Linked DNA regions of Homo sapiens: regions 2, 3 and 4 are each linked to region 1. Evidence: promoter capture Hi-C in human tissues and cell types (Jung and others, 2019). All regions are on one chromosome and are shown on one strand. Each heading gives the region's core, a stretch centred on a gene start or on the middle of the fragment in contact. The rest is flanking DNA. Distances are from core to core; before and after follow the strand shown.

Evidence for each region. The method cuts DNA at HindIII sites, captures the fragments that hold promoters and counts their contacts. A contact is called where the count stands out against the background at its distance.
Region 2: a contact is called between a fragment that was not itself captured here and the fragment with the promoter of SH3BP4 in region 1, in 2 of the 25 tissues and cell types used here (IMR-90 fibroblasts and mesenchymal stem cells).
Region 3: a fragment that was not itself captured here is called in contact with the fragment with the promoter of SH3BP4 in region 1 in 1 of the 25 tissues and cell types used here (bladder).
Region 4: a contact is called between a fragment that was not itself captured here and the fragment with the promoter of SH3BP4 in region 1, in 1 of the 25 tissues and cell types used here (thymus).

What each region holds. Positions count from the first base shown.
Region 1 is chr2:234,950,405-234,954,178 of GRCh38, forward strand. SH3BP4 (SH3 domain binding protein 4) reads left to right here and starts at 1,613. Exons shown (of 6, transcript NM_014521.3): 1 at 1,613-1,766. It overlaps LOC105373938 (a long non-coding RNA gene), which reads left to right. Exons shown (of 7, transcript XR_007088132.1): 6 at 194-947; 7 at 1,035-1,395. RefSeq lists an enhancer at 2,066-2,715. The HindIII fragment of the contact is 19,834 bases long and covers 1-3,774 here.
Region 2 is chr2:234,703,882-234,707,655 of GRCh38, forward strand. All of the region lies in intron 2 of LINC01173 (long intergenic non-protein coding RNA 1173), which reads left to right. Among named protein-coding and RNA genes, the nearest start is that of LINC01173, 23 kb to the left of the region's middle. The HindIII fragment of the contact is 4,554 bases long and covers 1-3,774 here.
Region 3 is chr2:235,147,603-235,151,376 of GRCh38, forward strand. It overlaps the pseudogene CEP19P1. Among named protein-coding and RNA genes, the nearest start is that of SH3BP4, 200 kb to the left of the region's middle. The HindIII fragment of the contact is 3,579 bases long and covers 42-3,620 here.
Region 4 is chr2:235,079,620-235,083,393 of GRCh38, forward strand. No RefSeq gene overlaps it. Among named protein-coding and RNA genes, the nearest start is that of SH3BP4, 130 kb to the left of the region's middle. RefSeq lists an enhancer at 3,732-3,774. The HindIII fragment of the contact is 8,690 bases long and covers 1-3,774 here.

The DNA of each region.
Region 1 (3,774 bases), core at 363-2,862:
CAGAGAGGCGAGATAACTTGCCAGAGATTCAAGCACACTCCAGACACATCCCTACACCAATCAGACCTCCTAGCCACCCAGAAACTCTCCTCTGCTCGGAGGCTTCTCTGCTTCCTCCACCTGCCCCTTCGCCTCACTGCCTCCTTTCAAAATCTGCGGCATGTATTTTAGGGATACTCGTATCCATTTTCAGGAATTCCATGATCTACACACAGATGACACCAAAATCGGAACAGCAATGTCCACCCTTCTCCCGAGCCCTAGGTCGGTGCCTCTGTCCACCTGTGTCTCCTGAAACTTCAACACAGACTTCAAATGGAGTGGCAGAAAACCAGATTCCTTAGGGAAAGGAAGGTCTCCCAGACGGCAGGAGCGGCAGGCCTTAGGGGCAGCCGCAGGGGCTCGGGAGTCTGAACATACCCGGTTTGAATTCAGACTCTGGCACGCCCCATGCGATCATAACATAGTGCTGCACGTCTCAAGCCACCTATAAAAACGGGGACAATAACAATATCTGCCTCGGGGTTAATGGTGAGGACTGACTGTGTGTGTCTCGCTCAGGACCAGGAGCAACAAATGTTGGCTTCTTCCCCGGCAAAGACCCGCGCTTTCTCCTGGGCTCCGGGTTCCCGGGGTGGGGGTGGGCGCAGTCCCGAGGGCCCCAGGCAGTGGCGCAGTGGTTAGACCCCAGCCTCTGGAGTCGGCCTCGGTTCAGATTCTGGTTCTACCCTTCTCCTCTGTGGCGAACCAACCCTCCGAGCTCTAGTTTACTCGTGTGAAATGGACTAGCCAAAATTGGGATTTTTTTTTTTTTTTAGGATTAGATGTGTCGGTCCATAGACGTTGCTGGCCACATAGTTAAGTGGTGCGTTCACTCACTGGGCATTGATGGAGCGCCTACTACGTGCCAGGCCTGTTTTACGCGCCGGGGGCCCAGAGGCGCCCAGGTCAGACAAAGTGTAAACGATTCCGACCAGAGCCCTTCAATCTGCATTCCGCTTCGCAGGAAACTCTCCTCCTTTTATGATTTTCAGCCGGACTGCCTTCCCTGTTGTTAGTTTGTAACTTTCGCTCCGGCCCCCGCAGCCTCGCGCCTGCCTTCCCTCCACTGTCCTCAGCCAAGGTGTAGTAAAGCGTCTCCGAACGCGGCGCGACCCTCGCCCACGCCCGCTCGCGGGGGGACCGCACCGCCCCAGGGGTCCTCGCTAGGGGTTCCCGGAGAAGGGGTGGGAGATGGGGGTGCGGGGGGGCACAGGAGCGCGGGCCAGCACCCAGACCTGCTCGGTACCGGGGACCCAGACCCGAGGATGCCGGGCGGCCAAGGCCCCGCTACCCTGGCCGGCTCCGGGCGGAGGAAGAAGAGGAGGCGCCCAGACTGGATACCCGCCTGGACCCGGAGCCGCGGCACCACCCCCAGCCCGCCCCACGCTCGCCAGCCTCAGACGGCCGCGCCCCGCCCCGCCCCTCTCCCGAAGCCCCGCCCCGGCGCGGGACCACCCCCTCCGCGGCCTCAGCTCCGGTCCTGGCCCCGCCCCCCGCGCCCCCGCCCCCGCCCCCGCCCCCGCCCCCGCCCAGGCGCGGGACCACCCTCCGCCCGCCGAGGCGGGGGCCCAGCGCGCCCGGCACTCTCGGCGGTCCGGGCCCCTCGCCACTACCGCCGCCGCCGCCGCCGTGAGTCCCGCGGAGCCGCGCGCGCCCCCGGCTGGGCCGAGCCGCTGGCCGACGAGCGGAGCCTCAGGAGCCGGCGGGGACGCCATGCGAGCCAGGTAGGCAGGCGGCGGCGGGGAGCGCCTCGGGCGGCAGGGCCCTGGGGGCCGGCGGGGGCGCGGGGTCGTGCTCGGGGGCTTTGCACTCCCTTGCGGGCGCAGATCGTGCCGCGGGCGCCGATCGTGCCACCGCCGCCTGAGTTCGGGGCTGCGCGGGTGCCTGGGCGTGGGGCGGCTTCGGGGAAGCCTCGCGCGCCCCTCGCCGCTCCCCCGGGCGCTCGGGTCTCCCTGGTGCTGGTGGGCAGGGACCCGGCCCGGGGTTCCGGGCGCCGAGCCGCAGCCCTCCGCGTGCGCTCGGGCCGCCCCCCAACCCCGGCTCTGGCCACTTCCCGGCGGGCGGCCCTGCGGGGTGGCCTCCCTGGGCAACCGGACGCGTCCTCGGGCGCAAATCGGGGGGCGCGCTCGGCTCACGGGGGCCGTGGGGGCCACGGGAGGGCGTGGAGGGGTCGGGGCGCCCCCCTCGAGCGGCGCTGGGGAGGAGGGAAGGACGCGCGGTCTCCGGTTAAACTTGTTGGTGACAATGCATATTTCAACTTCTTCGGAGATCCCTCCTGTGAGGATGAAATTGAAAACTCCGGTTTCTGGCTTGGCGATCGGGTGACCGAGCAGCCGCGAGGTGACAGCGCCGGCGGCCCGCGGGCGGGGACCGGCTGGGATAGAGGCGCGTTGTTCTCTGAGCGATGTTTACCGAGAAGCCCGCTCCGCGGCACGGGCGGGTGTCAGTTGGGACCCCAACCCTGGGTCCCGCGGCTCCTAGCCCGGGGCCTGCGGTGTAGACGGGGGTTGGGGACAGGCCCAGCTGGCCCTGACCGGGTGTCGGGCGCCCAGAGATGCCGCGCGGGAGGAGCCGCGGGAGAGCCGCCGGACTCAGCGAGCAGAGGGTCGTGGAGCCTGATGGATCGATGAGATCTGAAAAAGAACACTGTGCGAGATTGTATTCCTGCTTATTCTTTCCAAGTTAGTAGGCAGATTGGAACTATAGAATTTATCCGTGATAATAATAAAGTTCGCATAACTTTTGTTCTGATTACAGAAACAATGTATGCTCAGGACAGAAAGCTAGAGATAAAGAGAAATATAAACAGCAAACAGGAAACCATCCCCAATCCCACATTTTTTACCAGCCTTGTCACAGCCTGGCAGATTTGAACATTAAGTTAGAACTGGAGCCATTCTTGCCTAAACCAGAGAATCCCTGAATGCAGCCGCCCCTTCTCACCCTTGTGACCGTCTCTGAGCTCCAAAGTTTGGGTTTTTTCCTTGCTCCCTACCCGGGCAGAATCTCTGCTGGCCACGAGTCCCCTTCCCAGTGGGCTGGGGGCTTTCCTTGAGATCCGTGGCCCAGATGAAATGATGGGAGAGGCCTGGATCCTCACCGCCCTCTGTGGTTTTGGTTCCTTGCCTTGTAAAAATGAAGGTAATGATTCTCAATCTGCTTCTCAAGCCACCATAAAAATTAATGGGTGGTTTGCAGAGCGTTTTGACATCCGTGGATGGACAGCGGCTGTACTTTAAGGCGCTGGGGAACATTCTACTGTTCCTCATTGCAGTGGTCATGCAGTGTAATAGGCTGCCTCTCACCTGGCCGTCCTGCCCAGGAAACAGACTCCAGGAATGTCCAGTGGAGCCCTGAGGACAATATTCCTGGTTCCTTGCTCAGTGCCCTCGGGACTCGGCCAAATCCCTCAGAGTGGGAAGCTTGGGAAGAGGCAGCGCTCTCCAATCCCCCTCCTCCACCTCTGCTTTCTGCTTGTAGGCGGATTTCTTAAAGTAAGGGGGCAGTGATATTTAGGCGGGACCCCAGATTGCCCACTGCCTGATGTTTGTGGGTCTGTGGAATGCCCGGGCCGTGCTTATCCAAAAGAACAGTTAGTTCTGGGAGGACGCATAAACTGAACAAACCTGGCTTCCTAGAGATTTGTATGGCTCACTTGTTTACTAAATGAACAATGACCGGCTGCGGAGAAGCCCAGGACACTTCTGTGAGCTTTATTATTATTTTTTTCCT
Region 2 (3,774 bases), core at 583-3,082, 250 kb before region 1:
CTGCTTCTGCTTGGGTAGTCCTCAGTCCTCCCAGAGCGTGCACAGCACAGCGGGGAATTTCAATCGCTGCAGGTGCCCAGGGCTTCAGCCCTGGAGATTCAGGATCAGTTTACCTGGGCTGGGAGACCTGTACTTTTAAAAAGCTTCAAGGTCCTTCAAATGGGCACTCAGAACCAAGAACCATGCTGTTTGGTGCTGAAGCTAATGCCACTCCACCCAAAGCCTCAAAGGTTGCTTAGATACCCACACACTTCTGCTGAAACAAGCTTCCAGAAAGGAATGCACAGATGAATGTCGTTAACAAGGCAGGCCAAATGTTTTGAGTTCAGAAGTATTTTTTCTTTCTTTTTTTTTTTTTTTTTTTTGAGACGGAGTCTTGCTCTGTCGCCCAGGCTGGAGTGCAATGGCACGATCTCATCACACTGCAACCTCCGCCTCCCAGGTTCAAGCAATTCTCTTGCCTCAGCCTCCTGAGTAGCTGGGATTACAGGCACGCGCCACCATGCCTGGCTACATTTTGCATTTTTAATAGAGACAGGGTTTCACCATGTTGGTCAGGCTGGTCTCAAACTCCTGACCTTGTGATCCACCTGCCTCGGCCTCAAAGTGCTGGGATTACAGGCGTGAGCCATCACACCCAGCCAGAGTTCAGAAGAATTTTAACCCAGTAACTGAATTTTCTTTTTACAAATGTAATGATCTTTAAGGTAGATGGTGTGGTAGCAGGGGGTTCTGGGAGGTTTGGCTTAATAATATGGAATATCAAAATGAGGGGAGAAACTGAATAAGGGTGTGTTTATGCTTACATTAATTATTTGTAAGTGTATCTATATAGCTTTAAATAACTCAAGTTGTTTTTCTTTTCTTATTCAAATACCACGAAATCCAAAAGCTATGAATTCTCTGAAATATGGACTAATGCTTAGAATGTTACACCTTCCTTTCCCCTTCCAAAGTGTCGTTACTACTTTGATAGAAGCTGTAGGCACAGGCTTCATAAGTATAATCATATCACTTTCATTCATAGCCAAGAAAAAATTGAGCTTCTTATTGAGAGTACATGTCACTAAGAATCCAGCTTCTGCAGAGGGGGCAGGGGGAAGGTTTTCTGCTTAGTCCCAAATTGCTTTGGCCATGATTGGATTTCAGTGTGAAAAATTGAGGCAGCCTGTTCAGGGTGAGATAGGAGGAAGAGAATGTGGAGCCGCTAGTTGCTGAGCAGCTGTGAGACAGTCAGCATACAGGCCATGCCTCATTTTCCCATCTACAACCAGGGGTGATTGCAGTATGTGGCATCCAAATGCTGACCACTCTACAGCTTCCACCCTGCGGTCTCAACAGTACTGGGGACCTGAGAACAAGACAGAGGTGAGCCTGGTACAAAGCTTCAGCCACACACCTACTCATCTATGCTGTCATACTCACTTGGCCCTAGCCAGAACCACAGATGACATCATCCCGGGTAAATTAGCATTATTTCCACCATTACTCACCTCTGCCTGCCCTCTTGCCTTCTCTTCTAGGAAGTTACGTATCTGAAAGTGGTAATTAATGCAAGTGAGAGATCTGGTCACTTAAATGTGTGTGGCACCTCTCCCCTCTCCTCTTCCTCCTGCTCTAGCTATGTGAGACGTGCCTGCTTCCCCTTTGCCTTCCGCCATGATTGTAAGTTTCCTGAGGCCTCACTAGAAGACACTATGCTTCCCGTACAGCCTGCAGAACCATGAGCCAATTAAACTTCTTTTCTTTATAAATTACCCAGTCTCAGATATATATATATATATATTTTTTTTTCTTTTTTTTGTGTGTGAGACAGAGTCTTGCTCTGTCCCCCAGGCTGGAGTGCAGTGGTGCCATCTCGGCTCACTGCAAGCTCCGTCTCCTGGGTTCACGCCATTCTCCTGTCTCAGCCTCCTGAGTAGCTGGGACTACAGGCGCCCACCACCATGCCCGGCTAATTTTTTGTATTTTTAGTAGAGATGAGGTTTCACCGTGTTAGCCAGGATCAGTCTCAGATATTTCTTTATAGCAATGCAAGAATGGACTAATACACATGCTTACTTTCAAAAACTTAAATATATGAAAAGTATAAGAAAAAAATTAAAAGGATGGATACTCCCAAAGTAAGAAGATCATCTTTCTTTACATGTTGATGCACTTTCTTGTAGCCTTTGGTCTAAACAGGCCTCTCAAACATCGCTGGGTCCTCCTTGTACATGGGTTCTCAGGAGGTACCAGCACTATTTGTTCCCCAATTCTCCTCGCTCATTTACTCTCACTCTCCCATTCTCCCCAGTTGATTTTGGGCATCCACAAGGGGCTCTCACACAGGGGAAGAAGTGACTTTCACACCAGTCATCTTGTGATTTCTAGGGCACAAGCAACACTCCTCAGCACCACGGCCACTGCCATCCAAGAAGACATCACCCCCCTTCACCAAAGAGCCCCTATAGCAGCCCCAAACCGGCAAGGGCCAAGCAGAACTGTGCTTTCTTCAGGCCCTACTCAATCATGGCCCAAGTCTATAGTTCTGCAGGAGAGGGAAAAAACATCCCTTGTCCCAATTTATTTTGAATTTTGTCATCTGTCTTTGGAAAAATAGTCTCATAAATTTTACCTTGCACTCCTCCCTCCCCAGTTCCCCCTTCAAAGGCCTTGCCAGTTACTCAGGAAAGGAGACACATACTTGAGAAGTGGGGTGTTGGGGTAGGGGGCAGGGATGCCACCAGCTCCACAGTCAATCTCTTTACTTCTTTTTAAATATATTCTTAATTGACAAATAATAATTATATATATTTATAGGGTACAATGTAATGTTTTGATTATATATACATTATGGAATGAATTAATCCAGCTAATTAACATATCACTTCACATACTTATTTTGTTGTTGTGAAACATTTAAAATCTGTTCTTGGCTGGGCACAGTGGCTCATGCCTGTAATTCCAACACTTCAGGAGGCCAAGAAGGGAGGGTCACTTAAACCCAGGAGTTCAAGACCAGCCTGGGCAACACAGTGAAACCCCACCTCTACAAAAGAATACAAAAATTAGCCGGGTGTGGTGGTGTGCAGTTGTAGTCCCAACTACTCAGGAGGCTGAGGTGGGAGGATTGCTTGAGCCCAGGAGGTTGAAGGTGCAGTGAGCCGAGATTGCACCACTGCATTCCAGCCTGGGTAACAGAGTGAGACCCTGTCTTCAAAAAAAAAAAAAAAAAATCTTTGAACAACTTTGAAATGCACATTGCATTATTAACTATAGTCACCGTGCTATGCAATGGATCGCAAAAGCTTATCCCGTGCTGAAACTTTGTGCCCTTTGAGCAGCCTCTCCATACCCACCCACACCCAGCCCCTGGTCTCTACCTCTGTGAGTTTGGCTTTTTCAGATTCCACATATTAAGTGAGATCATGCAGTATTTGTCTTTCTGTGCCTGGCTTATATCACTTAACATAATGTCCTCCCGGTTCATCCATGTTGTCACAAATGACAACATTTGTGAATAGTATTCCATGACGTATATATACCACATTTAGTGGTACATCAACATACATTTAGTTTGTTTTCATATCTCAGCTATTGTGAATGACACTGCAATGAACATAAGAGTGAAGATATCTCCTCAACGTGTTGATTTCACTGTCTTTGGATACATACCCAGTAGTGGGACTGGACAGCAACCTTGATGTAGTCTTAGAACCAGGCTGTGCATGTGAATGTGTGTGTGTATGTTTATGTGTGTGCACGCATGTGCCTGTATGTTTGTACACATTA
Region 3 (3,774 bases), core at 581-3,080, 200 kb after region 1:
TGCAGGCCAACATCTATACTGCTTGGAAGGGGTTGCTCCCACCCAACAGCAATGCAAAGAGGAGCACCTAAGTAGACTTTGAGGCTGGGCAGAGCCTGGTACTGCAGGAAGAGACAACGGCCTCAGTCCTACTGATGTGGCTGGATGAACTCCCTGGAAGTAGAGGTGGGGCCGGCACAGGGCACCATATGCTGGCTCCCATGATGGCATGCATGGCTTCAGAGTCCTGAGGGGCACTGGTTAAGCTGTTTCCACAGCAACACCCAGGGCTCACCAAAATTCACCCATTCTAAGTGTACAGCTCAATGAGTTTTTTGACAGTATACAGTATATAGTCACGCAACCACCACTTTCTATATTCAAGAAATAGAATGTGTCCGTTCTTGGGAAAAGCCCCTTGTGCCTCTTGGTGGTCCTCCCTTCCCCTCTGCTCCCAGGCAACCACCGCTCTGCTTTCTGTCTCCGTAGTTTTGCCTTCCCTAGAGAAGTGAAATCACACAATTAGACACTCTTTCACTTAACAAAGTGTTGCTGTGTATCAGAAGTGTGTTTCTGTTCACCTTTGGGTAATATTCCATTACATGTTGATACCATCATTTGTTTTTCTGCTCCTCAGTTGATAGATATTTGTGTGGTTTCCTATCTTCGGCTATTATAAAGGAAGCTGCTACAAACATTTTGCGTATGACTCTCTGTGTGTTCGTTTGCTTTAATTTCTCTTGGATAAATACCTAGGAATAGACTTGCTAGGTCATGTGTCAGTGTATGTTAAACTTTATAAGCAAGTGCATAACTGTAAAAGTTATATAGATGACACATGGCTACTCACATTTAAATTAAATAAAATAAAAATTTAAAGTCACTTCCTCAGTTGCAATTGCCACAGGTCAGGTGCTTCTCACTAGCCACATGCAAATATGTATGGGATAGCACAGCATGGAATATTTACATCATACAGGAAACTTCCATTGGACAGCACTGGTACAGAATTTAATATATTGGGTTTCAGAACAGAAATACTTGTATTGATTTGGGCAAAGGATATTTTACAAAGCCATGGATAGCCTTTCTCACTATTGTTTATATGAACAATAAGACGCTTGCCAAGTCTAGGCAAAGAGGAAGCATCCCATCTTGTGTTAGCTTTGTGGAAAAAAATATTAGGAGCAGCCCAAGGACCAAAGCATCTGACAGCCTGAAGAAGTGATTGTTCATCCCGTCACAGCTGGCTGTCCATGTGGGGATACCACCCACAGGGACCCAATTTCCTCCAGACCTTGGCAAACTCCTGTCGACAGCTCCAAGACCCAAGGACTCCATAGAATGGAGAGGGGGCTCTGCTCACGGCTGGGAAAATGCCAGGGGCCCCATGACAGGTGACATAATGAACTGATTGGAATCATTATCTCAGAAATAAGCTTTCTCCATTGCTTCTCAGATGGTGTCTTCATTCATCACTGATAAGAAAGGACATGGAGCCCAGCTGAGAGAGTACAAGTCACCCATCCACCTTCACACCTTCAAGGCTTCCAGTTCCAGCATCCTTGACTCTGTTTATGGATGAAGACCTTAGGATTTGGCAAATAGAATTTTTTTTCTGACCATGGTCCAGATGGGCTTGTTTTACCTTGGCTTTTTTACATGCGGTTCCAATTTCCTGGCAGCTGGGGCTACTGGTGAGGAATCAGGACCCAGGACAATCAGGGGCATTGACTGTGGGCATGGTTCAGTTTCTTGTGTGTGGTCTCGCTCAAGAAGGGAGGGCACATCACTACAGAAGGGTTTTTTGTTACCTCTGGGGCAATGTTGTGTTTTGTGAAAGAAAGTATTTTAACCACACATTTGAACAAAGCTGGCAAAACAATAGTTCCTCTTGTGGTCTTCCATTAATCTTCTTTTATGTAAGGAGAAAATCGGATGCCTTAATGATGTCATCATTTGGCCTGGAAAAGAACCAATGGAGTTAAAGGGCCCCATTGTTTCCCTGACACAGTGGTGGAAGAGGAAGAGGCATTTGCTTTTACTGTTCCAGAGAGAAGAGGGCACGTCTGCAGCCCACCACCCATAAACACGCTGGAATCTTAACACTGGGAGGATTCGCCAGGAGGGCTTTGTGGACATAGTCTTCATTTCCACAGAGGCTCCTCCATCTGTCATCTGCTTTCTTGTCACCCCCCAAATAAAAAGAGCTCAAATTTGTTTATGGTAAGTCTACTGGAAAGTCCCTTCCCATAACCCTTCACTCTATGGTTCCTTTCTCTCTTCACCTTTGGTGGAAAAGTGAATTAGGGCAATAAAGCAATAAAGCCATCTTCTGAGAGGTGTCAGTCAGCCAGGGAAAATGTGGGTGTGTTGTAGATACTTTGCAGGAAGAAGCTGGATGGTGTGACAAGCCCATTTTGGGGGAAGAGTATCAGGGTTAACTGCTGCCCTTCCGGGGCAATTCTGCAAAACTAAAATCTCCATGGACTTTCTGAGCAAGGGTTCCTGGGGCAAGGGATGAGAAAGAGAAGACAGATGTGGCAGAAAAAGAGAGGGACACCAAATCATGTAGACAGGAGACTCCCAGGCACCCATCCAGATTTAACTCTGTGTGCACAAAAAGCTGCCTTGATGGCAAAGTGGCAGCTCACAAATGGCCCCACAGTGTGACTATTTACGTCCAGTCTCTACATGCCCTTGCAGAGACGATGTAACCAGCAGGGTTACATAATTGACTTTCAGTAGAGGATGCAAAAGTGATCCCAATGTTTTGCCCTTTCCTCCACTCATGCCTTTTGCAATGTGACTTTGCACTCTTTCCCTCAAGAGTTGGAGTTCATTTCTATGTTCCTTGAATCGAACTGGTCTTTTGGCTTGCTTTAGCCAACAGAGTGGGGTGGAAGCGACTGAGTTCTGAGTCTAGGCCTCAAGATGTTTTGTACAATTCTGCTGTCTCACTTGGACCCTTGCCTCTACCGTGAAAACAAGCCCAGGCTAAGTGGTTAGAAGGAGAGAGACTAAATGTATGTATGGAACAGAGAGAGGTGAATCTTCCTAGCTGAGACCAGGCTAGACCAGCTATCATCCAGCCTGCTTACAGATGTACCAACAAGTCCAGTGGAACCTGCCCAGGCAAACTCTAGGCTTGTAAGGAATCATGCATGATTGTTTCTTTAAGCCGCTAAGTTTTGGGGAGGTTTGTTACACAGCAGCAACTAACTGATAACTCTTTATAAGAGATATTGAGGGTAAAGAGATTATAGATGAGATAAAATCATGATAAAAGCCAAACGACAACAGCACTGGCTTGTGCATAAGCTGTGGATACCATGAAGCAGAGCCCTGGGGTGTGTCCTCCCAGGCTTGGGAACCAGTAGTTAGTGAGGTTGATTATGGCCCCCACCAGGATGGAAGAGGAGTGGGCTTTGGCCCTGGAATCTGACAGGAGCAGCAGGGAGGTCAAACTGCAAGGCACTCGAGCCTCTCCATCCAGCTTGGAAAAGAGCACTTTCTTTAGATCCTTGACTCAATCAACTCCCATCTCTAAAGCCAGCACTCAGACTGCTGTGAAAGTGAGCATTCTCTGGCTTCCCTACATTATGCAGCCAATCTGTAAACTAGATCATCAGCACTGGGCAATTTAAAGTTTACTATAAGAATAACAAGCATTTATTGAAACAGATGCAGACTATTAAACCACACCACTTAGAGAAAAGAGCTGTTTAACATTTTGGTGAGCTTCCTTCACACATCTCACAGTGTACAAACATACACATAGAGTTTTAATAAATG
Region 4 (3,774 bases), core at 403-2,902, 130 kb after region 1:
AAAAGTGAGCAACTCAAATTTAATTTCACTAAAAGTGCATCACAAAGCATGGGTATTAGGACCCCTGTCTCCAAAGAGATAGGTACGAATGAAATCTTCACATGTCTTTGACTGATATTTGAGTCACACTCACTTCAGTCCTGAATTTGCATCACTTTCTGAAAGACTTATAGTTTTATATGTTTCATTTTGTATATTTTTAATAGTTTATTGTTGACATATCACACAATTTATCCATTAAAAGTATACGATTGAATGATTTTTAGTATATCCACAAATATATGCAAGTACCATTACAATTTTAGAACATTTTCATCACCTCCAGAAGAAACCCCATAAGCTTTAGCTATCGAACTCTGCTCTCCCAGCTCCCTCCCCCGGCCCTAGGCAAACACTAATCTGCTTTCTGCCTCTGTAGAAATGTTCTGGACATTTCATATAAATGGAATCATATAATATGTGGTCTTTTGGGACTAGCATCTTTCACTTAGCATAACGTTTAATGTTTTTGAGATTCATCCATGCAGTAGCATGTGTTAATGCTTCCTTCTTTTCTAAACCTGAGTAACTTTGCACTGTATGTATTAATATATTCTGCATTTGTTTATCCATTCATCTGTTGACAGATACTTGGGTTACTTCTGCCTTTTGGCTATTGTGAGTAATGCTGCTATGAACTTGGGTGTGCAACTATCTCTCAGAGACTCTGCATTCTTTTCTTTTGAATATATACCCAGAAATGGAGTAGTTGAATCATATACTAATTCGATCTTTGTATTTTGGTGAAACTGCCACATTGTTTTCCATAGTGGCTGCACTGTTTTCTGTTTCCACCAACAGTGCACATGGGTTCAATTTCTCCACATTTTTGTCAGCACTTGTTATTATCTCACTTTGGTTCTAGCCATCCTAGTGGGTGTGAAGTGGCATCTCTTTGTAGTTTTGAAGACTCACCGGCATTTTCAACTAGCTACGTCCAAACAGAACTATCTTTTATCTCTCAAAATCTGCTTCTCTCCTTATGAGTCCCATTTACATCAAAGGCATTGGGATTCACCCACAAACCAGTGTGTGTTTCCAGCACCTTCTTTCTAATGTAGCACCCATGTCCATGCTTGACATTGTCACCCTGAGCCAGCCGTACTCTCAGCATGCTGGGTGTTGCATTAAGTTTTAAAAATCTATATTATGTATCTTTCATCATTTTTCTTCAATTACAATATACGCTCATTATTGAGAATCTGCAAAAGTATAAAGATGAAAATTTAAAATACCTCCCTCACCTAGGGAAAACAACGGACCAGTGAATTGACTTCCTAGTGTGGTTGCCATGTGTAAACACTCCACATGTATAACTTAAGAATAAACACTCTTTACCCCTGACTGAGGCAACTCTAAAGTATGAGCTCCCCTTCCTCTGGAGTTCTCCTGTGGGGTGGAGCCAAAGTTTGTATTAGCCCGTTTTCACTCTGCCATAAAGATACAATTCAAGATGAGATTTGGGAGGGGACATAGCCAAACCATATCATTTACCCTCCAGGGGATTTTGTTGGATATTGCTCCCCCCTACCTCCCATCCCTGGTGCCACTTCCCTTCCCCCACTAGTCTTTTCTGAGGCATGACTTGTTCCATCACCCTCATATGATCTGCTTCTCAACATCTGCTATAGGAAAGCCTGACACATCCTGATATGGTTTGGCTCTGTGTCTCCACCCAAATCTCATCTTAAATTGTAGCTCCCATAATTCCTATGTGTTGTGGGAGGGACCTGGTGGGAGATAATTGAATCATGGGGGCGATTTCCCCCATATTGTTCTCATGGTAGTGAATAATTCTCACAAGATCTGATGTTTTTATAAGGGGAAACCCCTTTCGCTTGGCTCTCATTCTCTTCTCTTGTCTGCCGCCATATGAGATGTGCCTTTCACCTTCTGCCATGATTGTGAGGCCTCCCCAGCCACGTGGAACTGTGAGTCCATTAAACCTCTTTGTTTTGTAAATTGCCCAGTCTTGAGTGTGTCTTTATCAGCAGCGTGAAAACGGACTAATACAGGTCTTTCCACATCTTTGCTAATCCAGGGTGACATTTAAAAACAATCTTTTAATATAAAACAATTTCAAGGTCGGGCGCGGTGGCTCACGCCTGTAATCTCAGCACTTTGGGAGGCTGAGGTAGGCAGATCACCTAAGGTCAGGAGTTCAAGACCAGCTTGTCCAACATGGGAAAACCCAATCACTACTAAAAATACAAAAATTAGTTGGGCATGGTGGCATGAGCCTATTAATTCCAGCTACTCTGTAGCCTGAGGCACAAGAATCGCTTGAACCCAGGAGGCGGTGGTTGCAGTGAGCTGAGATGGCACCACTGCCCTCCAGCCTGGGCAACAGAGAGAGACTCCATCTCAAAAAAAAAACAAAAACAAAAAACAAAACAATTTGAAGCATACACAAAAGTATAGAGAATAGTATAATGAACCCCTAGTGCCCATCACTCGTTCCAACAATTACCCACATTCTGTCCTTTGTGTTGCATCTGTCCTCCCAAAACTGTTTTGGCTTTTCTTCTGGCGCATGTACAACAAATTCCAGATGCCATATCATTCACTGAAAAATACTCCAGTGCTTCTCTCTAACAAAGAAATGATGAGTGCTTACATGCACACACACAGCACCATTCTTATATCCAAAAGATTCGTAATCATTCCTTAATATTATCTAATAACCAGTCTATCTTCAGTTTTCCTGATTGTTGTCTCGAAAGTGTCTTTTTCCGGTTCATTTGCGCTATTTATTGCTCTTAGCTGATATGTCTCTTAATTCTCCTGTGATCTTAACAGTTTCAACTCTTCTTCTGGTTTCTCCATGCCAGCTATGTGTTGGAAACAATCAGCTCATTTTCCAGGTCATTTATCTTACAGAATGTCTCGCTTTTGGATTGGGCTGGTTGAATCGTTGAGGAATCATTTAAGGCTGTCTTCCAACCCTCATATTTCCTGTGGATGGATAGTTAGATTTAGAGGCTCAATTTGGCTCAGGTTCTTCAATTTACAGACAATAAAACATTACAGGTGACACTAGAAACTTATTGCCGAGAGTCAAGAGGCACAGGATGTCTGGGGTCCCACCTTTGGTGACGTTAAGATAAATGAGAGGAATCAGGTATTGTCAGCCTGATCCATCCATTATAAAGTTTCCCATCAACTTTTCACCTCATGGTTTTAGCTCTCCCTTGGGATTATAAATTTAAAATATCTTTGTGAACTTGATAGCTGATAAAATAGACTTGTGTGTGTTAGTCGGTAAATTGATTGCTCATTTGGCAGCTCTGGGGATTCTTTGTGATTTAGTGCCCTGACTCCTGGTCAGGCCTCCCCATCGGGTCTTGATCTGGTCTGGTCTGGTCCTGGCCTTGCCGTTCCCATCAAGCCCTTTGGACTGTTTGATGCAGAAATCATCCCATACACTACTCCTGGGGATTGTCCCCACATTCCAGGCTACAGGGAGGTGTGAGATCCAGGTGCTACCTGGATTCCGGCTCCATGCTGAGGTGTCTGCTGCCACATCAAGATCAACATCTTTGAAGCCACCAGCGCTGCAAGAGAGCTGCAGCAGTCACCATGAAACCTCCACGAAACCACCTGCAGGGCCACCAGTTCAACATGCTTTCCCTCCCACAGTCAACATTGCAGAATGAGAGTTGAGTGAAACAGTTAATCTGTTCATTCTTACTCACTTTTTTTCACTTGTTTATTTCAGAACCCTCTTCCTAAGGC